Regions from separate parts of the Homo sapiens genome. Here all the other regions are linked to region 2. Evidence: promoter capture Hi-C in human tissues and cell types (Jung and others, 2019). All regions are on one chromosome and are shown on one strand. The core of a region is centred on a gene start or on the middle of the fragment in contact, and the rest is flanking DNA. Distances in the headings are between cores, read along the strand shown.

Region 1 (4,400 bases), core at 602-3,101, 1.4 Mb after region 2:
GATCTGACTTCATAAAGTACGTGTATACACATGCATACCTATGCTTCCATGCCCATTAAGAAAATGTGGAAACAAGAAATTTAGGCTTGGGAGCAACGGCCAAAGGAGAAACAAGGAGAAGGAAGAGATTTACTTTTCACTTTTACCTGTATATAGTATTTAATTATTTTCTGTAAGTATATTACTTATAATTTTTCAAAGTAAATAGCTCAGTAAAATGATCTTCTGTCAAGCTCAACAATTGGGTGCTTAGCAGAGCAAGAAATGGAAAAATAATGGCTAAAGCAGCTTTTACGTAATCTCCAAAGACATCAACTTTCACATCAGTTTCTCATAGACTGTCCAGCATATTGGAACCGAAGAAAAAGAGCAGGCATAAATACTCAGAACAATAAACTTGAAAAATGTAACCTCTGGTATACATTTAATGGTATTAAATGAAAAGCAGTGAAAATGAAAACCTTAAACATCTGCATATACTAAGACTATGTTAAGAAGAAACGATTATTAAAAGTTAACTAATAAATAAGTAAAAGTTTGAGTATTTGGGGGTGAAAAATTGTCAGAAAGCAAATGTGTAAAAAGATATATGGTCCTGAAAATCCTCGCTTATTCTAAATTTAAAATGCACCTTGATTCTATTGCAAAGAAAGTTGAAAGTATGTCATCAAAAAGTCATTTAAAAAAACTACTACTTAAAAAGTGATCAGATAATTTACAAAGATTATTCTCAAGAAGTCAGATAAAGATAAAGATGCCCCATTTGTTAACAGTACTTTTTGTTCTTCTGGATAATGTACTGAAAACCAGTCTAGCTTCCTATGGTATGCATAACTTCCTCTGTAATACTCCAATTGTATTACCAAAAGCAAACATTACTTTTGTTATCAAAGCAAATTTAATAAAGAATTTTCAACTATCTTGCCCACTCACTTGCTTTGTAATTCAGATAAATGACTCAACATCTCCAAGCTTCTTTCATCATCTTGTAAAAGGCAAATAGCAATCTCTCCCAAGCAGCACTGTACTGAGAATTAACTGAATTGCTTTATGTAAATTCTCAGCACGATACCTTGTTCATGGGGGGTGGGCAATAAATAGGAGGTATCATCATCATCACTCTTGGTAATGACGATAAAGCTGGTATATTTTCAATTCTATTGCATACAGTAGAATTTAAATTTAGTCAAAAATAATGTTCAATATTAAGAAATAACAGACTTCATCTTCATAACAAAAGATAGGTTGGCAATGGCTACCTTAGAAGCTACCTAATTGCCTGGTCACAATTTTTTCTTTGTGTACTTTCCTAAAATAAATTTAATGAATAACAAACTATATAAATAATTTTAACTGATAATCATGTGCAAAGAAATACAATTTGGCACTCAGGCTGAGCTTATCCCACTGGAAAGGTGTGCATTAACATGGTGGCATGTATTCGTTTTTCAAGTCACTTTACTGGCCACTATTAAGTCTCTGTGTGGATGAAGTAGAAACTAAAAAAGGTCTGGTTTGAGAAAGGCCGGAAGCAGGAGGCAAGTGGGCTCTGCCAAGGTGCATCTGTATCCACAGGTAAGAAGGAAGGTTCTCCATTCTTTCTCTCTCTCTCTCTCTCTCTCTCTCTCTCTCTCTCTCTCTCTCTCTCTCCCTCTGTGTGTGTGTGTGTGTGTGTGTGTGTGTGTGTGTGTGTGTGTGTAGCATTGACAAGGGGGTAAGCCCCTACAAAAGAGAGTGAACCTCAGAAGAGAGATGCTGGAGAGACGCTGTGTCCTCCAAAGGACTCATGTCACCACAGTCACCATACCCAGGTCAGGTCTACCTAACAGCCACTTCAATTCCATCTTTCTCATGTGACACTTAAGGCTATGCTGACTTTGCCAAAATTGCTTTCAGCCAAATTTTCTAAAAGAAAGGAAAATAAGCATACTTTTCTGATGAAAACTGTTGTCAGACAGGCCTGTAACTAAAGCCATTTCATACAGAATATCCTGGCCAATGTTTAGCACATGGTGCTTTACACTGAAAACTTTAAAAGCTAGAACAGCTATCCATATCCATCTTCTAAAATAATGTTGTAACAGCATTAGTAAATGGTGAATAATGTTTGAACAGTGTCTACTAGGAAGGACTTAATGAAATAAAGTGGAAGATATGTGAAATGACTAACATTTGAATTCATAAGGATGTTATGCCCCAAAACCTTATTTTTGGTATCAAGGTGGCCATTTTGATTAATTTCCTGATGATACTTAAGAAAGAATAACATTAATTTCTAAAGCTTCCAGATAATAACTTTTTCCCAGGTTACAGCTTTTATATATGTTATATGCAACTCACACTAATTCACACTTAACAGCAGATAGAATCTAAATTAGATCTTCTTATAAATTATTTCCAGAATGGGCAAGAGCAACCAAAAGATAAGATATACATTATCTAATTATTCAATAATGCTAGGAAATTCTTTTAAAATATACAAACTAGGCTGGGCGCGGTGGCTCACGTCTGTAATCCCAGCATTTTGGGAGGCCAAGGTGGGTGGATCACCTGAGGTCAAGAGTTCAAGACCAGCCTGACCAACATGGAGAAACCTTGTGTCTACTAAAAATACAAAATTGGCTGGGCGTGGTGGCGCATGCCTGTAATCCCAGCTACTTGGGAGGCTGAGGCAGGAGAATCACTTGAACCCAGGAAGTGGAGGTTGCGGTGAGCCGAGATTGCAACATTGCATGCCAGCCTGGGCAACAAGAGTGAAACTCCATCTCAAAAAAAAAAAAAAAAAAAAAGACACAAACTAAGCAAACTCTAAATTTATATTATTTTGGAAGACTCATCAAAAATCCTGCTCCAAACACTCATATTGCTAATTATCTCATTCAAGATATTACTTCACCATGTCAATATTGATTTATTATTTTATACTTTGTTTCTTTCCCCCAAAAGACATGAGAACACTTACAAAAAATACTCCTGCCACTGAGATAAAATAGATAGGTAAGTAAATCTGGGTTAAGTCAGAATGAAGGTAAGAAAGTAAATATATATGGGCAGTGGTAGAGCACAAAAATGTAAGCTTTTAGGTCCCTGATCCTTTGCCAGTAAAGCTGTACTTTCCATCCCAGGCTCAGTTTCTTCCGTGTTTGCTGGGAGTTCCTGTATTACTCTGTAGATTTCATCGAACTTTTAAGAAGGCAGTGGTTGCTTTGCCTAGCAAGGGAATAAGAATAATGAGCTGAGAGCTCCAAGGTGGTATTTGGAAGGCATACTTTTTCCCAGAGGAAAAATACTGAAGAAAAAGGCCAGTTGTACAGGAAATAGGGACAGACATTATCACCATATTGAAGCCAAATAGAAAATAAAATGATTTTTTTTAAGTTTAAAATTCTTTTGTTTCCATGATATACTCAAGAGTCTGACTCCAAATAACAACCTCAAAACCTTGTTTCTGTTTTCAGTGCCTTCCTGAACTAAGTGTTTTCCCTCAAGTAGCACCAATAAAACCCAGATTCCACCCACTGGCATTCTGTCTAAGCCAACACAGCTTTTATCAGGTGCTTGAAAAAGACTTTGCATACAGTAATGTGAGACGCTGAAGGTGCATGGCAAACAGCAATGCACTGCTGTAGAACTCCAAGTTGGGCTTCTAACCTCCTGAGAGACTGATGACTATAGATGTCACCCAATCAATGAACAAATGAATTTTCTTCAGTATTTAATAGTGTATTTTGGTATCTGGATTACTGGGAATTTTACCAAGGGCCAAAAGAGCCTATTGCTACCAACCAGATTTGGTTGGGGGTTTGGCATCTGAAATGTACTCTTTTCCCCAGGAGCTGAAATTGGAAGTGGACTTATTTAAATGCATTGGCCTTGATCACAGTGGATGCCTAGATTTCTATTAACTTTTAGCCTTGTTAAGTCCAGGTAATTTCAGTTATTGATGTACCCTCCTTTTAACTTCTCCATCATCAAAAGACATTTATTAAGTACCTATTTGTTTACCTTACTCTTCGAAGTACCACATGGAGAAACACTTCTTGCCCTCTAGGGAACTTAAAATCATTCCTCTCATGGTCTCCTTCTGGCTTTAACTAGATACCATTAAATAGTTGCCTCATTCTCCTGCTGCAAAAACATTTCTTCAGTGCTGGCTCTTCATTAAGGGGTGGCTAATGAAGCTCATGTAGATCACCCAATTTGGTAGAAACTCTGATGGCTTTAGCCCTTCATCTCTCCTAAATGCTGCACCTTATGAAGTTTGGCACAGCCTCTCACAACTCCCTATCTGCCATGTTTAAAGGAGTTTTGCATTTGTTTGTTTTTGATTCTACGTATTTAAAACTACCAGTATTTTCAACAAGAAGAGCAAATCTAAGATGCAGATAAATTACGTTACT
Region 2 (4,151 bases), core at 612-3,111:
TTCAAATAGTTTGAGTAAGAAATGTCCTCAGATTAAACCACATAAAGCAGTTATGGTAGCATTAACAACAATCTATTATAGATCCATAAACATTCAATGATTTTAATATATTCTGAAAACTAGCTAAAGCATCATTCAAAATGTCTTCATTTTAAACTAAAATGTCAATAGGCATTTAACCGAAAAAAAATTTAAAGCTTGACATACTAAGCTTTCCTTCAAAAGTTTACATTTTTTTATATTTCACTGGAACAAAGTTACTTTGCATATACATCACACTTTTACTCTCAGAGGAGTTTCTCCTGCAGACTTCTTTAAAAAACTATATACATATATACATACATATACGTATATATTAAATTATCCTCAGCCTCAAATACTGATTTTGCAGTCTGTGATTCATAGCAGAAGAGGTGTCCCATTTTTCTATATTGACACACGATAATTTGACATTTGTTTTTTACTGACCAATTTCTAGCTAGATATTTCATCTATAAACTGCACTTAGCCAGCCTTATGCTGAACTTTGTAAGGGTTTTGTAATAATAAACTGTTCTTGACTGAAACACAAGCCTTTCATAATTACATGCCACAGTGCAATTCTTATGCAACGAGCTTGTGTTTTTCCAAATTTAGGACCAAGCATGTAGTTTTATCAGTTAGCTGGGATTTGGTCTTGTTTTCCCTTGATTCTGTAAGTGGTAGTTCTAACTTTGAAATGGGTCATCTAACTTATAACTATTTTCTTCATTTCTTTTTAAAAGGGAGAAATAGCATGCAAATTTCTGGCATGTTGATAGAAAGTTCAGCATTTTTTCCCTGACATGAAATATTTCATTTAGAATGCGTATGTTTCCTCTACGTATAAGGTTTCCTAGAGTCAGATATGATAAAAACAAACTCTGAGATGTATATACCTATGTTCCTACAAGTGTAAAACCTGAATGATGTCTCTGGAAATGGAGCCTCGGAGTGACCAGGAACACAAATACTTATATGTCACAGAAATAGAGGGGCACATACTTTGAAATATTTCAATGGAAATCAAAAATTGTAGTTTACTGGATTGAAATTAGTATCCTCTACTTAAACATTTTTGACACAAACTCAATGCTGATTCAGATCTGTAATCCATGTAGCTCATAATAACTTACTTGGTAGAAGTATTTCAGATTAATGAATTGTACAATTGTACAAATTAATAAATTGTACAATTGTTCAACTATACAATTAATTGTACAATTTGTATAGTTGAAAAAATCTATAAATTAATTTATAGATAAATTATCAAAGAAGACAACATTTTAAATAGTTATTCCCAATATTTTTTCTTCCATAATTAAAATAAAAGTAAGTATCTCAGCAATTGCTTGTTCTTAAAATTTCACTGCTATCTCAGCAGTCATGTAAGTTATTCTGGCTATTTAATTTTTCACTTTTGTTTGCATACTGTAACAGTTGGTAGGATAATTAATTTTGATTGTACATTTCCATTGAACTTTTGATGAAATTGTTTCACTCTTTTTATTAGAATAAAATTATTAGGAAAGTCTTCTAAAGAGAGGTTTTCTGTTTGTTTTTCCTTTGAGGAAGGTAGAGAGATGGGAAACGAAGACACCAAATATAAAGTCATTCCTCTATCTCTCATTTTAAAACCTGTTTTAAAGGTTGTAGCTAGTCAGGAAAACTGAAAAATCAACTGGTATTCCTAACTAAAGCAGGGCTTTGAAACTCTGCTACTAGCGACAGGGTTGGGAAAATTCCGGTTGCTCTTCTTGTCTGTGATATACGGTAGAAGGGTTGGTCCTGGTTTGGTCCACCTGCCAGCGGAGTTTAAAGTTTCCGAGGCTCAGAGGAACACAATGACTTGGATCAAACAGCCTAAATGGGAAGAAGGACATTTTTGCTGCATCAAGGAAGCCGTTAAACTCCTGCTAAGCTAACTAGCTCTTTTTTATGGGTCCATGCACACGACCGAACTCCTCTTTCACTGACCAGAGATTATTTCTGACAACCCAGGATATCCCGAAAGCTTGGAGGCATATGGCTGGAAAATGAAACGACCCAGGACATCGTTTCTGGCTGCATCATTATTTTGTGTCGCGTAGTACCAGATGGGCAGTCAGTGAGCGGCGCAGGGATGTGAACGGACGGTTTTATAATGTGAAAATTTTCCCTTGGTAAAGCTAAAACAGATTTAATTTCCCTCTCTTTTCTTTCACTACTTCCCCCTCTTTATTCCCCCTCTGTCTGCAATATCAGTGAACTCAACTTTGCAGTGAGGTGGCCAAAAAGAGAGAGAATGAGGAGATCTTGATCATCTTAGTGTCGGAGGAGTCGCAGCGGACTGGGAACTGCAGCTGCGACCCCCCGCGTCCTGTGCGGATTTCAGGGCTGATACCGCATAGGCGGTTATGGAAAGGACGGTACACCGGAGCGGCGGAGGATAGAGACCCTGGCCCCCGGAGAGGTCTGCTGATTTCGCAGCAGCCTTCGAAGCCGTGGCTGCCTTTCATCTGCTGCGTTTTATTACTATTATCGCCGTTCCGGAAAAGTCATGGAAGACAGCCCGCTGCCAGACCTCAGAGACATCGAGCTGAAGCTGGGGCGCAAAGTACCCGAGAGTCTAGTGCGCTCTCTCCGTGGGGAGGAGCCGGTTCCCAGGGAAAGGGACAGGGACCCCTGCGGGGGGAGCGGTGGTGGTGGCGGCGGCGGCGGCGGCTGCAGTAGCAGCAGCAGCTACTGCAGCTTCCCTCCCTCCTTGTCGTCCTCCTCTTCGTCCTCCCCAACCTCTGGCTCCCCACGAGGTAGCCACTCTAGCGCCCTGGAGAGGCTAGAAACCAAGCTTCACCTCCTCAGGCAAGAGATGGTGAGTGTGGTGCGCCAGCCGCGGGGGCTGGGACCTGGGCTGGGCCAAAAGATGGGGCGATCTGAGAATGGGGCTGGGAGAGAGGACGGCAGGGGCTGCAGAGCGGAGCGCTGGGCGCGTGGGAAATGCTGGGTGGAGGAATGAGCAGGGGGCGCTCATCCGGAGGCAGCTGCTGCGAGGCTTGTTTACCGCGGACTTTGCTCGGTCACGGTTTGCAAAGACAGCACAGTCGGCTGGCTCCACTCTGTGTACTTTCGGACAACGCGACTCACTGCGCCGGGCTCTATTTAGCTGCCAGCCCGTAGCCTCTTAGGCACCAGCCCGTTGAGAGTTTGCAGTTATTGCACCCATCTAAGGCCTGCTGTGCGCTGTTAACACTTCGGGTAGGTTCAAAAGGTGGCTCAGTCCAATGCACTTACTGCAAAAATACTTCCTGGTTTGCCGGGAGGTGGCGTGGCAGGGTCCTTGCAGCCTTTCCTCCTAGCTCACCCTTCCACCAGTACCGCTCCGCCCTCCTGCCCTCCCTTCTTGGTGCAGCAGCCGCAGCTGTTCCAAGGCCACTGTCGAGCAGATTCTCCACAGCTGGTTCTGAAAACAATGGCCTACTCGTCCTTGATGTACTTATGAATAGCTTGTTTCACTATTTTGATCCCAGGGAGCAGGTGATCCCCAGGCCCAGGGATCTGCTAAGGACCATCTCCCACCCTTCTCCCTCAAGTCTCAATCTGCAGTTGTTTTCCCTGCTGTTTGCAAACGTTTGCCTGAGCATAGGACAATGAGATAAGTACAAGGTCTAGGAATACTCATTCTGGAAGTATTTAGACTAAGACACTATTTACTTGCCATGAGCTCTTGGGCACGTCACTTCACTTCTGTAGACCTCTGTGAATTTGATGAGCTGGTTAGAGAAAATGATCCCTCCCTAAGTCCTTTGAAAAAAACGACCACAAAGCAACAGCATTTTCTACTAGCTTGGAGATAAGGAAAGTTGCAACAGTGGGCCTCAAAAAGAGAAAATAATTTCATTAAATTAACTTCACAGTTGCTTTTGATTTGCTTCAAAGTAGGCTAGGAGATTTCTATCACTCCGACAGGAATGCTGGAAATTATTTCTATCATTCTATCGTTTAGTTATTATAGAGTTCTATCATTTAGTGATTGTTATTTTTTAGGTTGGACAAAAATTTAAGGACAACCCTTAGGTACATAATGGAGAAGCTGGAAAGTGGAAGTCATCTTGATGAGTTTGCAAAATAGATGAAAAGATAAAATGGAAAAGATG
Region 3 (4,471 bases), core at 1,212-3,711, 1.6 Mb after region 2:
ATAGGTATCCCCAGACTAGCTGCTAAGCAGGGAGAGGATCATGTTTGGGCATCTGCACCTCCTATGGTCCAGTCTCCCCACTTTTTTTGGTTGTTGTTAAGATAAAGTTTATGCTGGAAGAAACTTCAGAGGTGCTTTAGCCCAATTCTCTTGGGCAGTGGGTTCCTTCTGACTTTGCCGAAAGTAATTTGTCCAAAGGGCAGCTCTGCTCCTGGATCTGCCTAGGGAGGCCTGGTCTCAACAGCGCCAGCCCTGTGCCCCATACAGAACTCTCATCCTAGGGAGCTGGGCTAGGGCTGGCTGTGTCCGGGCCAGGGATGCCTGGACCTTGAATCACACCCCTTCTGCCTACCAAGGGCATCTCCCCTGTCAGGAAATGATCGTGGTGCCAACTGCACTCAAGGAACACCTCAAACCTTCTTTTCTCACCTCCCATCCTACGCTGATGGCCCTATACTGTTCACACATTGTTTCCTGATTTAATTTCTGTACTTGCTTTAGAACTTATTCAGCTATCTCCAGCCCTTTCTGTCTATCCTAGATGACAACTTCTCCTAGAAAGAGTTTCTGTCTGATGAACTCAAACTTAAGAAGCCTCCCTTGCAAAGACTGTGACTGAATTTTAGAAGGTATCTCAGGCATTTTGGGTGGTGAGCATGTTGTCCTGTCCTTCTCACCATTTTTCAAATCAAGTGGCTTGTGTCTCATTGCTTTACAGATAAAGAAACTGAGGCACAGATTCCTTCCTATGCAGGCCTTTGAAAAGCAGCTACTATGTTTACATAGATTCCAAGGGACTTGACTTACTAAAAGGCATACATGGATCTGAGAGCAGAGTGTGCCACAGACCCCGGGTCTCTTGATTTGAGGTCCCATTTGCCCACAGTTCTGACGGAAGTATATAGCTAACAATAAACTACTGTTGAGTGAGCATCAACTGTGCACCAGACCACGTACCATGCCAGATATGTTACATAAGTCATCTTTGCAGCAACGCTAAAGAGCATCATTAACCCCAATAAAATTTTAAAAATAAAATCATAAAAGGAACACATGCGTAAATCCAGATACTTCAAATAATAGAAAACAGCATAAAATGAAAGTAAAAGTCTCCTACCCTGCTCCGTCTCCTGGAATTACACTGATTTTTTCATTTTTTTTTGGTGATGTATTTGTATATATAATAGATGTTATCATTATTTTATGAGTGTGGAGTTGGGAGGCTCACCACCAAGATAACAAACCATGGCTACCTGTCTCCGGGCTCAGCACTTCCCGGTACTCTACATTAGCTAAGATGAACGTGGAAATAAAGAAGTGAGCGAGGCCACAGGTAAAAAGAAGAGTCGGGTCAGAATTGACATCACCGCTTCTTTTGCACTGTTCCTCCTGCCCCTGCCTGGCTCCTGAGACCACAGGCTCCCTCAGTGTATGTAATCTGATGATCTTCTATGGTGGCTGCATTTCTTCCAGGCCTTGGTGCAATTGGACAAGCAAGTGTTTCCATGCTCTGTCACCCGGGCCCTCAGTGCTGTTTCTACGCTGTACTAGGTCTGGTCCTGAGGCAAGCCTCTAAGCTTTAGATTTCACTGCTTATCTCTCAGCGTTGTTGAGAGGCTCCAATAACAGACAGGGAAAGGACTGTGTAAACTTGGAATCTCTCTATGTAAACATACAGCTGCTTTTCAAAGGCCTGCATAGGAAGGACCCTGTAGCCTTTCCCTCTGGAACAGAGGAGTTTCAGGAGTCTTTGTGAAAGAGTACGTTTTTGACATCTGAGGGTTTGCATTGTGTCCGTTTGTGTCTATAGGGGCAGGGTTAGGAGTATGTCTTAAAGTAGAAGAGGATGCTCATTTATTACTGAATCTTTGGAATCAGGAGACTTTGGCAAGGGTCAAGTGGATTTCTTTCTGCTGGAGGGCACACAGAGGCAAGCTGGTGGGGTTACAAGGAGGCAGTTATCCTGCTTGGGGTGCACCATGGGTTGGTGAGAATGGCAGAGGTATGGTGAAGGTGCTGCAGCCTGTCCCTTTGGGTAGGTAGCTACTACCAAAGGCTGTCCTTAGACTGTAGGGGCAGACAGAGGGTGGTGAGGGATAGGTCCAGGCCGCGTGAGCTTCCCAGACATGTTATTTAATTTGTGATTGTTTTTGTGCGTGGAAAGGGGAGGGATATTAGAGGATAGATGTGACAGTTCTTCTGGGAAGCTGGTCCTGTTCTATAGGGTTCTTCATTCAGGAAGAATAGCCAAAAACATCCTGAGTTCAGAGGCCTGCAAGTGAGAACAAATGGTGGACCACTGCTAGGGTGTCCTTGGCAGAGCGGGGGAGCTCCTGGAGAGGGGTCTCTGAACTGCTGCATCCCTGCACCCTGAGAATCTGAGCATGAGGAGGAAGCAGAAAATGGCTTTAAGGCGAATGAAGGGGGCTGGGGAGTGGGCTGGTTCCAATGAGAGAAACTGAAAGGAGGGAAGTCAGATTTTTCTTGACGGCCCAGTCTGGCTTCATTCTTCAATACCTGTCAGGACAAAGGCTGCTGCGCCCCCTGGTGTCCGACTGGCCGCCGATGCCTGCGAGCTGACGTGGAGACCCGCAGGCGGTGAGACCCGGGGACCAGCTGGAGGAGTCCACGGGTCAGATGCCTTTTCTTCCATTTGCTAAGGGAGTTGAAGTTGAAATAGCCGTTGCTTTGTCCGTTCTAGAGTCCAAATAGAGACTCTAGTGGAGAGCGAGAGGGGTTTTGTCTTTTTTTTTTTTTTTTTTTGCATGCAATTGAGGCTGACAGGACAATGCCTGTTTAGAAGTAGCCTGGTGCAGTGGAAAGTACGCTCATCTGAAAGAAAAGACCTGCATTTTAGGTGGAGAGCTGATCTGGGGCAAATCACTTAAAATGTTCCAACCTCCCCTTCCTTCTCTAAAAACCAAAGGGGTTACAGTAAGATGTCTGTAAGGTGTTGTCTGAACTCTAATGTTGATTGGGATTGATTAAATCACTAATACACCGCACCCTATTTTCTCAGAGCCTTGCAAATTTGACATTATTTTTTCAATCTACAGGCAGGTGCAAATGTTATGTTTCAGCATCATGAGTTCCCTAATTGTGAGCAAAGATTTTAGTGTCTCCTTTCCTTTTAAAAATAAAAAAATAGCTCTTTTGAGCACAGAACCTCCCTCACCACCACCTTTTGTGGAGCCTCCTGCAAGAAAGCTGCAGAGTGAACAGGGCTTCAGTCTCTGCTCTGTTTCTTTTAAAAATAAAGTACTAAAGTATTGTGCTGGAAATTCTGCTACTAAGTGTTACATGTGGTAGGTGTGAATATATGCTTCAATAGTTCCAGGCACAAGACCAAAATCTTCCCCAGAATTAGCAGAGTTTTCAGCTATAATCTGGCTAACATTTTTCTACAAATAGGTACAAAGACCAATTTGAGAGTACGGTCTCTCTAAGGGGCTACATGGTTGGGTTTCCATTGAAATTTAGGGCCATCCCTTGTACAGTCAGGTGAATTTTTAAGTGGGATCAGCCCTGGGGAATAATTATGTAGTCGCTGAGGGTTTTTCTCTCCTAAAATCTCCAAATCTAGTTTCTGAGGTGAGCAGTCAGTTATACCTCATGGCAATTTTTTCCTTCAGCATTGCATTTAAATGGTTATCTCTATGTAATGGGTACTCTGTGTGTGTGTGTGTGTGTGTGTGTGTGTGTGTGTGTAGAAATGGATTGTCCCGTGAAGGATCACTTGAACAGCAACCTTAGCTTTACAGATGTGAAGGGAGTGTGTAGCCCTTGTCCTGTTGTGAACACTGTCACTATTCCTTGTGCGGCAGGGGAGGAGCAGGTCTCTCTAAATGAGAGAAGCGAACCAGAGGAAGAACAGCAGCACAAATGAGATGACCTATAGCAACCGACCCCTGCTTCAGGGATGGGGAGATGCTGTGTGTGTGTGAGCATGTTTGGGTTGGAGTAAGCACAGTGACTTGGAACACTGCACCCCTCCCCAAAGGGAAAAGCTGTGTTACAGGCTGAACTGTGCCACTCCAAAATCACCCTTGATACCTCAGAATGTGACTGTATTTGGAGATAGGGCCTTTAAGGGGGTACTTAAGTTATTATGAAGTGGGCCCTAATCCAGTATGACTGGTGGAGTCCCTGTAAGAAGTGATTAGGACACAGACATGTATAGAGGGAAGACCATATGAAGACGGAGTAGGTAGCCATCTACAAAGAAAGAGGCCTCGGAAGAAACCAACCCTGCTGACAACTTGATCTCAGACTTGAGCCCCTAGAATTGTGAGAAAATAAATTTCTGCTGTTTAAGCCACCCAATCTGCAGTATTTTGTAATGGCAAGCGCAGCAAACCAATACAACAAGATGATACTCTGCACCAGCCCATTATGTACAGCCATTTGGAGATGCAGACCCAGGGTTACCAGATTCTCTATTTGAAGAATCTTTTGCTTTTTAAATATTGGC

What was found. Contacts are between HindIII fragments. The study calls those that stand out against the background at their distance.
Region 1: a contact is called between a fragment that was not itself captured here and the fragment with the promoter of LURAP1L in region 2, in 1 of the 25 tissues and cell types used here (dorsolateral prefrontal cortex).
Region 3: a contact is called between a fragment that was not itself captured here and the fragment with the promoter of LURAP1L in region 2, in 1 of the 25 tissues and cell types used here (dorsolateral prefrontal cortex).

What each region holds. Positions count from the first base shown.
Region 1 is chr9:14,214,893-14,219,292 of GRCh38, forward strand. All of the region lies in intron 2 of NFIB (nuclear factor I B), which reads right to left. Among named protein-coding and RNA genes, the nearest start is that of NFIB, 97 kb to the right of the region's middle. The HindIII fragment of the contact is 4,207 bases long and covers 1-3,955 here.
Region 2 is chr9:12,773,159-12,777,309 of GRCh38, forward strand. It overlaps LURAP1L (leucine rich adaptor protein 1 like), which reads left to right and starts at 1,862. Exons shown (of 2, transcript NM_203403.2): 1 at 1,862-2,869. The coding sequence starts at 2,558. The region is part of intron 2 of LURAP1L-AS1 (LURAP1L antisense RNA 1); the gene reads right to left. The HindIII fragment of the contact is 5,707 bases long and covers 1-2,438 here.
Region 3 is chr9:14,351,110-14,355,580 of GRCh38, forward strand. All of the region lies in intron 1 of NFIB-AS1 (NFIB antisense RNA 1), which reads left to right. It also overlaps a transcript of NFIB not described here. Among named protein-coding and RNA genes, the nearest start is that of NFIB-AS1, 36 kb to the left of the region's middle. The HindIII fragment of the contact is 7,273 bases long and covers 1-4,471 here.